Linked DNA regions of Homo sapiens: region 1 is linked to region 2. The links are contacts of gene promoters, found by promoter capture Hi-C in blood cells and fetal thymus (Javierre and others, 2016). All regions are on one chromosome and are shown on one strand. Each heading gives the region's core, a stretch centred on a gene start or on the middle of the fragment in contact. The rest is flanking DNA. Distances are from core to core; before and after follow the strand shown.

Region 1 (6,245 bases), core at 1,360-3,859, 380 kb before region 2:
GGAGTTGGACTGCCTAGGTTTGAGTTTGAGTTCTGCCATTTATTAACTGTGAGGTATTAGGTATGGTACTCAGCCTATCAAAATTTCAGTTTCTTTCCAGGCATGGTGGCTCACACCTGTAATCTCAGCACTTTGGGAGACCCAGGTGGGCAGATGGTTTGAGTTTAGGAGTTAGAGACCAGCCTATGCAACATGGTGAAACTCCGTCTTTACAAAAAATAAAAAAATTAGCCAGGCACAGTGGCATGCACTTATAGTCCTAGCTACCAGGGAAGCTGAGATAGGAGGATTGCTGAAGCCTGGGAGGTCAAGGCTGCAATGAGCCATGAGCAAGACCCTGTCTCAAAAAAAAGAAAAAACAAACAAAAAAAAATGCAAAACAAAAAAAACGAGACTTGATTAGTCCACATTATATACATGTAACTAAATTTCACATGTACCCCATAAATTTGTACACGTAAAAAAGATTTCAATTTCCTCATCCATAAAGTGGGATAAGTTACTGCACATATCTTATAGGGTTGTTAGGATTAAATGGGAAAAACGTATGTATGGCAGAGACTGGCCAACTGTTTACTAAACTGTTTCTTTTTCTTCCTGAGCAAACAGTTAAACCACATTTTCCATCTTCACTTAAGTTAGCTGTGGCCATGCAACTGAGTCCTGATCAGTGGAATGTGAAAGTGTTAGCAGCAGTGAATCTGTACAGGTCTGCAGCAGCCTCAATTCTTGCCACCTCAGAAGAAAGAACTTGACTGAGGGGCATAAGGCAGAGGGAGAGACTGAGGCAAGTTTTAGAGCAGGAGTGAAAGTCTTTAAAAAGTTTTAGAGCAGGAATTTTAAAAAAGTACACTTGGAAGAGGGCCAAGCAGGTAACGTGAAAGATTCAAGTGTACAGTTTGACCTTTGACTCGGGGCTTTATACACTGGCATGCTTCCAGTGGGTAACATCTCTTCTCCCAGTTCTTCCTTTGGGGTGGGCTGTCTGCATTCGCACTGGCCTGCCAGCACTTGGGAGGAGCCGCATGTGCAGTGTGTTTACTGAAGCTGTGCACATGCTCACTTGAGGCGTTTTTCCCTTACCAGTTGAGTGTTCTAGAGGAAGGTCATATACTGGTTAAACTCTGCCATTTTGCCTTAGTTTTCATGCTTGAGCCCACTCACCCAACTCCTGAGATCTTACCAGGAAGCTGCTGATCACCAGTTTCGGGTGTTTTCTATTTATTGAGAGCCTGCCTTTCTCTGGCGCTGGCTGCAACCAATTATTATTTTAGAGAGACAGTTAACAACCGCCTGACCATTACCTGATGGTTTCCTGACATTCCTGGTTGTGGTAGGGGGGTGCTTTCCTGCCCTGCTCATGTCTGCCTACTACCTACTGTAACAAAAGGAAGAGAAGCGTGCTATTTCCAGGCTAAGCTCACACGCAGCTCTCCCACGGTGGTCCTCCTTGTTCTTTCCCCTTCTGCAAAGACCCTGGAAGCCACTTGTTGAAGATGGCAGGGCCACAAAATGAAAGGAGCCTTGGTCCGAGAGTCATGGTTTGGAGGAAAGCTTTATGCCTTTAGGAATACTATTAATAGCGTTTCTCTCAGTATTACAAACCAGAAGCCTACAGCCCTGAACTTAAAACACAAGCAATATAATGGTGATCTTGTCTGCAGGATTTTTTTAAGCTAGAGAAAGTCTAGGAAATAAAGTTGTATGTAGAAGCAGTAAAACTGTAAGCTATTCATATATGTAACTCACAGAAAGTCAACATCTTGTATTTATATTTGCTACATTTTTTGAAAATTTAATGGCATATACAAGAAGGGAAATGAGATAAAATACTGAAGTTGGTGTCATATTGAAAACAGTATTTTCAATTATTTCATCCTTGTGTTTACTTCAGTCCATATTATGATTCATTAAATGATTTCTCTCAGTATTTCACATAATGATTACCCCCCCCCCTTTTTTTTTAACTCTACTCCCATGACAGATTAGGATATGTCCTTTTTTTTTTTTTTTTTAAATTAAAGACTGGGTCTGCTACATTGCCCAGGCTGGAGTACAGCAGCTATTCACAGCCACCATGATAGTGCACTACAGCCCGAATTCCTGGACTCAAGTGAAGCCTCAGCCTCCTGAGTAGCTCGGGCTGAAACTGCCTTTGCAAAATTACAACAGTAAAAGAAATCTGACATGGCTGACTCCATCTTGCTTCCAGTCTCACAGGCTGGCTGTCTTCACTCATTCCTGGATGTGGGCCAAGGTAACTTTGGGGCAAATTTAGTTTATAGTTTAAACGATAATAGCCCTCCCCCAAAACTAAACTGCCCTTGTAAACCTAATGGAAGGTCAAGTTAGGAGGATGGGAGGGGCCTGGATTCTATTAAGATACAGGCTTAGCTAAAATATTACCAACCATTATTGTGGAGGCCACAAGATTAGCAACTTCCTCAATTATTCTTGCAGATAACATCACTATTGTAGAACCTAAGACTGGCCTTTTGAGATGTCTTTTCGGGTTTTTGCCTTTTTTTTTTTTTTTTTTTTTTTTTTTTTTTGAAACGGAGTCTCGCTTTGTCGCCCAGGCTGGAGTGCAGTGGCATGATCTCAGCTCACTGCAAGCTCCGCCTCCCGGGTTCACGCCATTCTCCTGTCTCAGCCTCCTGAGTAGCTGGGTCTACAGGTGCACGTCGCCATGCCCGGCTAATTTTTTTTTTTTATTTTCAGTAGAAACGGGGTTTCACCATGTTGGCCAGGATGGTCATGATCTCCTGACCTTGTGATCCACCCACATCGGCCTCCCAAAGTGCTGGGATTACAGGCGTGAGTGACCGCGCCCGGCCTGGGTTTTTGCATTTCTGATGAACAATGGGTCCACCTGGACTCATCAACCAGTCCTGTGGGCCCCACCCAGAAACCAATTCAGCTCAGGACAGCTTTGACTCCCTATGATTTCATCTCTGATCCAACCAATCAGCACTCCCGACTCACTGGCCCTGTACCCACCAAACTGTCTTTGAAAAACCCTAGTCTCTAAATCTTTGAAGAGACTGATTTGAGTAATAATAAAACTCTGGTCTCCTGTCAGCCAGCTCTGTGTGAGTTAAACTCTGTATCATGACTCCCCTGTCTGGATAAATCAGCTCTATCTGGGCAGCAAGGAAAACGAACCCACTGGGCAGTTACAAGACTACAGAAATGTGCCACCACACCCAGCTACCCTTCTTTTTTGAAAATATCTTCTGTCTTGGCTCTAACACCTTTCTCTGTTTTAGTGCTTTATGCTTATGCCAGTCCCCAGTTTTCTCTAACGAAATTCTACCTCTCTTAAAGCTCAAATTTCATGTATTGAGTCAAAGCCTTCCAAGATATGTAAGGGTTATACCAATTGCAGCCTTTTACTATTTGCTGTCTTCTATCCCAGGTTTTATTTCCAGGTGAGTTTATACAGCTTGCGTCTGCCAAATCAGATTTTAAGCTCCTTCATGGGAGGGACTGTCCTGTTTTCTTTGTATTGCTCAGAGAAAAGAGTAAAGTTTTGTGCAAATAGCTGTTGATGACTGACTCATTCATTTAAAAGCCAAGTTTATGAGATTTCTGCAAACATTTTAATGTCTATCTTTCATGGAGTTTTATAAGAATAAAGTGCAATAGCTCTCATAAAGCTTCCTTCACAGATGAAAAATAACTTGTATTTGGGGGACAATGATGGCAGAGGTGGTAGTATTTTATAGCCAGTGGTTTGGGTTAGAGGAGTTTTACAAAAAATAAATTAGTAGGCCGGGTGCGGTGGCTCACACCTGTAATCCCAGCACTTTGGGAGTCCGAGGCGGGCAGTTCACGAGGTCAGGGGATCAAGACCATCCTGGCTAACATGGTGAACCCCCGTCTCTACTAAAAGTACAAAAAATTAGCCGGGCATGGTGGCGGGCACCTGTAGTCCCAGCTATCGGGAGGCTGAGACAGGAGAATGGTGTGAACCCGGGAGGCAGAGCTTGCAGTGAGCCGAGATTATGCCACTGCACTCCAGCCTGGGCGACAGAGCAAGACTCCGTCTCAAAAAAAAAAAAAAAAAATCAGTGCCTTTTCTCATATTGAAATGAGGACTATTTTATATGTACTAACAACTAAACTTGTTTTGCTTTTCTGGGGGAAGGGGTCTTTCATCCTAACTATTCACTTTTTTTCTTTCTTTTTGCATATTTGCTTAACATAGTTACTTTAAAAATATTAAAATTTATAGCTGAGACCCAGTAAGGTGGCTCACATCTGTAGTCCTAGCACTTTGGGAGGCCAAGGCAGAAGGATTGCTTGAGGCCAGCAGTTCAAGACCAGCCTGGTGAACATAGTGAGACCCCGTCATCTCCACACACAAAAAAATAAAAAATTCGTGAAGCATTCCATATTTTTTTCTGAGATAAAAAAAAACTAAAAAGTTATAGCTGAAAAAGTTTAAATTGTATACCTTACATCATAAAGATCTTAGACTGTTTTAACTGTGAATCTTGCCTCTCACCTTTCACTTGATTGCTAGGTACTAGTCTAGTTCCACTCTGTGCTTATCCTCTAAAAATCAGTAATTTCTTTGCTCATCATTAAGCCTCACATACTGATCCTTTCTGCTGGGTTTATTTTTCCTCTTTCTAAACTACATCCTGGCCAGGCGTGGTGGCTCATGCCTATAATCCTAGCACTTTGGGAGGCCGAGGCGGGCAGATCACTTGAGGTCAGGAGTTCAAGACCAGCCTGGCCAACATGGTGAAACCCCGTCCCTACTAAAAATACGAAAAAATTAGCCAGGCACGGTGGTGCATACATAGTCGCAGCTACTCTGGAGGCTGAGGCAGAAGAATTGCTTGAACCCAGGAGGCGGAGGTTGCAGTAAGCCAAGACTGCACCACTGCACTTCAGCCTGGGTGACAGAGCAAGACTCTGTCTCAAAATAAATAAATAAACTACATCTTTCAGGACTTCTTTCAGCAAGGGTCTGTGAGTGGGAAATTCTCTTAGTCTTGGTTTGATAATGTCTTTATTTTATCCTCACTTTTGAATACCAGTTTAACTAGACAGGGAATTCTAAACCGACAGAAATTTTCCCTTTCATTTTGAAGATACTGCATTATCCTCTGTGCATTATCTACTGTTTGAAATAAGAAACCAGCTTTCGGTCTCTTGTTGTTTCTTTATAGATGACGTGACTTTCGGGGCTATCCTGAACATCCGTAGCACCCAGTGCAAAATTACAAATGGGGGATACCATATGTCTAAAAATTTTTAAGTCAGAAATCAAGCGAATAACTTGTTAAATAAAATATGTTCTATCCTCCTTTTTTTTTTTTTTTAAGACACAGTCTCATTCTGTCATCCATCAGGTTGGAGTGCAGTGGCACAATCACAGTTCACTGCAGCCTCAACTTCCCAGGCTCAAGCAATCCTCTTGCCTCAGCCTCCTGAGTAGCTGGGACCACAGGCATGCACCACTACACCTGGCGAATTATATTTTTTATTCTCTTAGAGATGGGGGTCTCGCTATGTAACTCAGGCTGGTCTTAAACTCCTGGGCTCAAATGATCCTCCAGCCTCAGCCTCCCAGAGCATCGGAATTACACGTGTGAGTTACCACACCCAGCCTATCCTCCTATCTTGACAGATACAGCTTTTTAGTGACTTGGATGGCCATACCTTGAATTTAGAAATCCTAGGGGTTCCATATTGGAACTTGGCAGTGTAGGGAGTGATTACTGAAGGGGTGGGTTGCCCCTCCACACCTGCGGGTGTTTCTCGTAAGGTGGAACGAGAGACTTGGAAAAGAAAAAGACACAGAGACAAAGTATAGAGAAAGAAATAAGGGGACCCGGGGGACCAGCGTTCAGCATATGGAGGATCCCGCCAGCCTCTGAGTTCCCTTAGTATTTATTGATCATTCGTGGGTGTTTCTCTAAGAGGGGGACGTGTCAGGGTCACAAGACAATTGTGGGGAGAGGGTCAGCAGACAAACACGTGAACAAAGGTCTTTGCAACATAGACAAGGTAAAGGATTAAGTGCTGTACTTTTAGATATGCATACACATAAACATCTCAATGCTTTACAAAGCAGTATTGCTGCCCGCATGTCCCACCTCCAGCCCTAAGGCGGTTTTTCCCTATCTCAGTAGATAGAACGTACAATCGGGTTTTATACCGAGACATTCCATTGCCCAGGGACGGGCAGGAGACAGATGCCTTCCTCTTGTCTCAACTGCAAGAGGCAT
Region 2 (6,694 bases), core at 2,905-5,404:
TCTTAATAAGGTTCTTTGCTGTGACTTTCCCTAGGGAGGTGGCCACTCCTGACTGCTCCAGAGAGGAGCTCCCATGAGCAGAAGGACTGTGGCAGCTGCTGTACTCAGTGCTACCAAGCAGAGAGTTATGGAGGCTCCAGGCTGACACCTCCACTGTCAGAACCCCTACATCAGTGCTCCCCAAAGTATTTCTCACTCCATGAGATTTTACTAAGTGTTCTTGGGAGGGAAGATGGAGAGTTGGTTCTGTGATAAAATAAGTCAAGGAAATGTTGGTTGAGACAACTTCTCAGAGCCTCTGACATGCTATATTGTGTTATGTGTGTGAAATGTTTAGGGTGTGGTAGGGGGAACACAATGTGGTATTTTCCTGCCATATTTAACCCCAGAACCATTTTTTCCAATAATCCCTGGAAATCTGCAGAACACAGTTTAGGGAATGCTTCCTGAAGTGACTGCAATCTGCTTCTTCCACTAGCTAGGAGAAAAAGCAAACGAGAGACTTCATTCCTGTGCCAATTGTGGACCGGGCTGGGGACTGAGCTAGGGCTTTGGCTAAGAAAATGAGAAAGCAACAGAACTTTGAATGCATGTCGGGCAGACCCTTGTTATTTATGTATTCATCTTTTGTAGTTTTAACTATTCAAAAGAGACTATGGTGGCCTGTGGCGGAAAGTAATTTAGACATTTACCAAAGCCACCCAAACTGTGGGCTGTGAAGCAGAGACATCAAGTCAGTGAATCAACGGAGCTGCCTCTCTAGCCTCCAAGTCTCAATGTGACTTTATGTCTATCTGTCTTTATAACTCTGAAGTTATAGCATTTGTCATTTTTCTGGTATTTGTAGATGTGAAGATTCATGAAGGTCTCAGGACAAATTCCTCATACAAATCAAGATCCTATTGTAATTTAGGTTTGAATTTATCAATCTGAAAGCCCCAAAAAAGGTCCCATGTACAACTGTGAAAGCTGTACCCTGCCCACATCTTGGGGGTGCCATTCATACAGAAGGTGGCATAAGTGAAGCCCTTTGGAGCTGAGTGACAGCAGTAACCCTCTAAAAATATTTGTGTTTTAAACTCTAAAAAACAAAACAAAGTTACAGAGTTGTTGATCAGAATGTCCAGTGAGTTCTCTTTCACTCTTGACTAAATCCATTGGCTGGCGTTTTTCAGTAAGGACAGCATCTTGGCTTGGGATTGGGTGAGCAACTTAAACACTGGATTCAGACTCCAGCTCACCAGCTCCTGTTTGGGCAATCCAAGACTCACTTCCAAAACAGGAATGTTGACAACAGTACTCACCCCACCAAGCTGAGGTGAGATAAAGCATATTAAATAGCTCTTTACAAACGTCATTTGTAGTCACTGGAGAAAGCCATGTCCTGCTGAGCTCTCTACTCTCAAATGTTGATGCCCAAAGTTTGCCACCCCATGGCCAGTGGCACTGGGAAGGTCCCATGGGCAGTGTCAAGGAGAAGTGGGTTGCAACACAATTGCTTAATACTTCTGAAAGAGGCTATTATTTTGCCTAAACTTTATGATTTGCTGTGATCTGGAGAGAGGTGGGACCCCTGAACACTGGAGTCTACCCAGAATTCCTTTTACTTCTAAAAGTTTTTGCAGCCATACATAGGTATTAAATCATTTCTTGGATCAAAACTATCATTATCCTGGTTCCTTGTAGATGTACTGTTACATTTACATCCAAAACATAAAATACACTCATGATCTCAGAGGTGGCAGTTTTGGGGCAGCATCTTTGTGTATCATTTAACTGTAAAATGAACAATCATCTTTCCGAAGAGTAGGAGAATGAGGACTTCATGAAACCATCACACAAGAGCACACTTTGAGATGTGGGATTTCATGATGGTAAAATCGACCTTCCTTAGGAGGTACGTGGGAAGGAAACTAGAAAGGTTGGCGCAGTTACATTTCATACCTTGGTTAAATAAATCATGCGGTCTATTTCTTAACCAACTGGCACAACTGCAACCCTCTTTCCATTCTTCTTAACAGGATCTGTTCCTCATTTGCAGTCTTTATTTCTCTACACACCTGTTTTCCCCAAAGTCTTAGAACTGCAAGAGGAGCCTGGCTTGGCCGTGCTGGTTATCCCATCGTCTTCACGTTAGCGCTTGTCTCGGTGTAGCCCACCGTGTCTCCTCCAGTGTCCCCTGCAACTTCCCCCGCAGTGTCCCTGCTTCTGTGGAAGCCTCTCGGCCTGGACTTCCTTGCGAGCAGCAGTTTAAAGGCCGCCGCTCTGTACTTCTTTGAAATGAGGTTGTAGAGGATTGGGTTGATAGATGCGCTCAGATAGAAAAGTTGCAGAGCGACGATGTTAAAGTACTGAGAGAAGTACATCATCCGCGAATCTTCCGTGTTTATGTAAATGATTCTGCCAACGTGGAAGGGCAACCAGCAAATTATAAATGCCAGAACCACCACCACTGCAACATAAGACACAGCACCGGGATTAACAAAAGCATTGGGAAGCAAATAAACCCCCCACCCCGACAAGGAACCATCTGCAATAACAAGTAACAGCAAAATAAATTAGAGAAAACTTCTACCTAGGCAGATCCTCACCCCAGAAAAAATGACCAGGCTGCAGGCTGCATGGATACTTGCTTTAAAACTGCATAGTAGGCTCCCATATGTGTTATCAAGGCTGGACATAAACCAGAAGGAGCAATTTCTCTGAACAAGCCGCCTTGGCAGGCTTCCTTCCACAAACCCACTTCGGAGACAAGTTTTCTGTTCTCTGTTGAAAAGAATTCTACAACAGGTCTGCACAATCTTTACTTTTTGATACGAGCAAGGTTTACTTTAGCCTTCAGCATCACTTAACATTAAATAAAAAATTTTAGCTTAATGAAATCTCCCTCGTCTTCTCAAGAGCACTGTGAGGACTCCTCATCTGTGGCATCTAACAGGTGGTTGGATTAAGAATTACCAACTCTCCTTTCTGGTCTCAGAGGCTCTGGAAAAGCACTGCTGGTTACTGAATCGGATCCGGGGATCCCACCCTCAAAGCGCCCTGGGGTCCCCCAGAGCTCCTGGGGGACAGGACATGGTTTTCTCGGGGGATGGGAAGTACCGGCGGGTGGAGGCTGGAATCGAAATAGGAAAGGGAGCTGGAAGCGGCGCCCAGAGCTGGGCGAGCAGGGGAAGGGGACCCAGCGTTTGCGCGGTCCCCGGCGGGGCGGACTGCAGGCAGGCGTCTTTGGAACCACGGCGGCTCCACTTACGCAGGACGCGGACGGTCTGCCGGTGGCCTCTCTCCCGCCCCGAGGCGGCCGGGCCTCGCAGCGGCCGCCGGCTGCTCCACAGCTCCCGCCCGATGAGCCCGTAGAGGATGCTGAGGCACAGAAAGGGCAGGAAGAAGTAGGCGGTGGTGACCCACAGCATGACACGCAGCGCGCCCAGCTGCGCGGGGCTCGGCCGGCATTCGCGGCTGAACAGCGCCGCGGCCTCCGCGGTCTCGGGCCCCGACGGCGGGGACGGCGGTGGCGCCCGCGAGAGCCAGAGAGGCGGCGACGAGGCGAGAGGCGAGGAGGCGATCCGCGCGGTGCCATTGAGGCCCGGGACTACGGAGATGCCGGGGTCCTGCTCGACGCCCACCAGGAACAAGAAGGGACCGGCAGAGAGCAGCGCCACGGCCCAGAGCACAGCGATGAGCGCGCGGACGCGGCGCCGGGTGACCAAGACGCGGGCGCGGAGCGGGCGGCAGATGGCCAGGTAGCGCTCGACGCTGAGCGCGGTCATGTGCAGCAGCGTGGCGTAGGTGCAGCCCTCGCCCACGTAGAGGGACAGGCGGCAGAGCAGCGGCCCGAACACCCAGGGCCGCGAGCGCCAGAGGCGGTACAGGTCGAACGGCAGCCCGAGCAGGATGAGTAGGTCGGACACGGCCATGCTGCCCAGGTACAAGTTGGTGGTGGTCCGCATGTCCCGGTAGCGCCCGATCAGCATCACGGTCACCACGTTGCCGCTCACCCCGACGACGAACAGGCACAGGCACACAGCGGTCACCGGCACCAGCGCCCCCAGGGGAAAGGGCGAGCAGCGGCGCTCGTCGCAAGGCGGCAGCGCGGGCCACGGCGGCTCCCGCGCCCCCTCGGGGCCGTCGCTGCCGTTCCAGGGGCTGCCCATGGGTGCTCCGCGCGGCCGCCGCGTCCCGGGTCGGGCTGGGAGCCTGGCGCGTGGTCCCTCTCGGTGAGCGCCTCCTTTCCCAGCCCGCACGCTGCGGGCGCGGCAGGTCAGACGGCGGAGCGCTGCGCTGCGCTGCGGGGCGCGAGAAGCGGCTCTGCGGGGTGGGCTCCGAGGCGCTCCCGAGCTAGCTGCGCGCAGTCTCCGCCCACGGCCGCGGCCCGCCCCGGCCCGGCCCTGCTCCGCTCCCGCGCCCTCTCCCGGGCCCATGCAGTTCCAGGGCGCTTCCCTCTCCACTAACTGGAATACCCGGCGCCCTTAGCGCACGAGCCCTACCCGGTCCGGTGAGCGATGTCTGCACCCTAGACAGCTTTGGTTACAGGACTGAGCACTGTACGGGCGCTTTTGTCAGTCTGGTACTCCGGGCACCTTCGAAGGGATCTGGTCTGGTGGCTGGTAGCTGCCGCTTGACGGTGGAGGAGGGCTCATGGTAATCCTCAGGAAGCCATAATGCTAAATAATAGGAGGGGAGTCTAGACCAGAATCTAGAGCCTCTCCTGTCTAATCCTGGCTCTACAACCGAGTAACTTGTGTAATCTTGGGCTAGTCCTGGTCTCGCCCAGCCCAGTTCTCCTCTTCTGTAAATTCGCGAGTGGTGGAGGGAGCTGACCATATAATTGACCAAATAATTTCTTTTTTTTCTTTTTTTCTTTCTTTCTTTCTTTTTTTCTTCTTGAGACAGGGTCTCACTGTCGTCCAGGCTGGAGTTTAAGTGGCGCGATCACAGCTCACTGCAGCCTCGACCTCCCAGGCTCAAGCAGTCCTCCCACCTCAGCCTCCTGAGTAGCTGGGAGCACAGGAGCGCCCAAGCCCCGGCTAAATTTTGTGTTTTTTGTGTAGTCAGGGTTTCGCCATGTTGGCCAGCCTGGTCTCGAACTCCTGACCCCAGGTGGTCCACCCGCCTCGACCTCCCAAAGTGCTGGGATTACAGGCGTGAGCCACCGCGCCCGGCAGTGACCAGATAATTTCAAGGATCCGTGAGCATGTTTACTTATTATAAAGAACAAGACAAATATTTACGTGGACACTAGAGTACTTTCACATGTGATATGTCATTCTTATGTACAACATGTTTTATAAACTTAAAAAACTAGAGGATTTGTCAACACCGGAAAGAACGAAAATTGGGGAAAGGGGCTAAAACGGATGTTCAGTCTGTTCGGTGTGGTCTTAATAACAATAGCTAACACTTACTGAGAATTTAGATGGATCTGGCCCTGTGCTCTCCATTTAATCCTCATGGCCCGGGGCGCTCCTTTCGCCCATGAACAAAGCGGTCTTGCTTGAGATCAAGCAGGCAGTAAGAGGCGGGACTGGGATATGGGCTCTGGTCGGCCTAATCCCAGAGCTTGCAAGCCTGACGTCCTACTCACTGCCCAGCTCCACCCCCTCAGTGGCTTAAATCCTCAACCTCTTCTCTGGAGTCTCGATTCTGGACCTGACACCTGGCTTTGCCTAGGGCAAGCTTCTCCTGCAGTTCTCTCTCACATGCAGACTGTGAGCTTGGAGGAGGGACACCTGTCGCCTCCCTCATCGCTGCTGTTTCCAGCGGTCCTAAAACCGCCCTCCCTAGCGCTTTCCTCCGTGGTCACCCGTAGTCCCTGAGGGACAGGTGCCTGCGCTCTCTTTGAAGCACTGCATCTGCGGCCGTTCACACCCATGCCGAGTCTTGGAATGCCTTGGCCTCTAGTTTGTTGACCTCCTTTCCACCTATGACCTTGCTCTCCACCCGATCTCAGCCGCGCCTGTCGACGGAACTTACACCTCACGGTTGCCTGCCAGCCTTCCTCCACCTCCACTTCAGTCAGCCCTCTTTCTGACCTCCGCCCGCTCTCTTTTTAGCTCTCTTCCCCTAGCACCTCAGTTCCGGTAATCCTTCAACCCACTGCGACCTCCATCGCTGGCTCCTCCTTCCTTTTCCCGGTCCCTTGCCTGCCCCAGGTCTTCACTTTCTTCCTTTACCCAACGTAAATTCCACGGGCAGTCGCCATCACTCCCACACAGACGCCCTCGACTCCCTTGCTCTTTTCTCCATTGTCAGCCTCGTCCATCCACCAAGAGCACCACAACCCTGGTGAAGCCGAATTCCCTGCCTACTCCTTGCCTGCTCTCACATGGCGTTGTTTCACTTGAAAGCACAACCTCTAGCGGGGTGCTTCGTTCCCCCGGCCTTCCCAACTCTCACCTGACCTCATTCACTCTCCCACCACCAGGCTGCTGGTTTATACCCCCTCCTCTCTCCTTAGACCCAACACCCACCACCCCTTCCTTTGGGAGGTTTCCTTGCACCCTGTTTCTCTGAAGATAACTACCACACCCCCACCTCTGCTCGTGCTCCCCTGGGACAGTTGGTGGTACTTGCAGCTGAAGTCAGCTCTGCCCCTTAAGTGCTCCTTTCTCCTCCTCCAGACATCACTGCGTCAATTCTCTTTCTCTCTCTCTTGTCATCAGTTTTTCTCTCCTGGATCATTTTCATGCAAAAC

What was found. The method cuts DNA at HindIII sites, captures the fragments that hold promoters and counts their contacts. A CHiCAGO score of 5 or more calls a contact.
Region 1: a contact is called between a fragment that was not itself captured here and the fragment with the promoter of MLNR in region 2, in 1 of 17 cell types (megakaryocytes). The highest score is 5.0, in megakaryocytes.

Annotation. Positions count from the first base shown.
Region 1 is chr13:49,599,482-49,605,726 of GRCh38, reverse strand. No RefSeq gene overlaps it. Among named protein-coding and RNA genes, the nearest start is that of RCBTB1, 17 kb to the right of the region's middle. The HindIII fragment of the contact is 2,105 bases long and covers 1,557-3,661 here.
Region 2 is chr13:49,217,798-49,224,491 of GRCh38, reverse strand. It overlaps MLNR (motilin receptor), which reads right to left and starts at 4,154. Exons shown (of 2, transcript NM_001507.1): 1 at 3,254-4,154; 2 at 2,115-2,452. The coding sequence starts at 4,154. The coding sequence ends at 2,115. RefSeq lists silencers at 4,122-4,201, 4,272-4,531, 4,468-4,724. The HindIII fragment of the contact is 8,957 bases long and covers 1-5,678 here.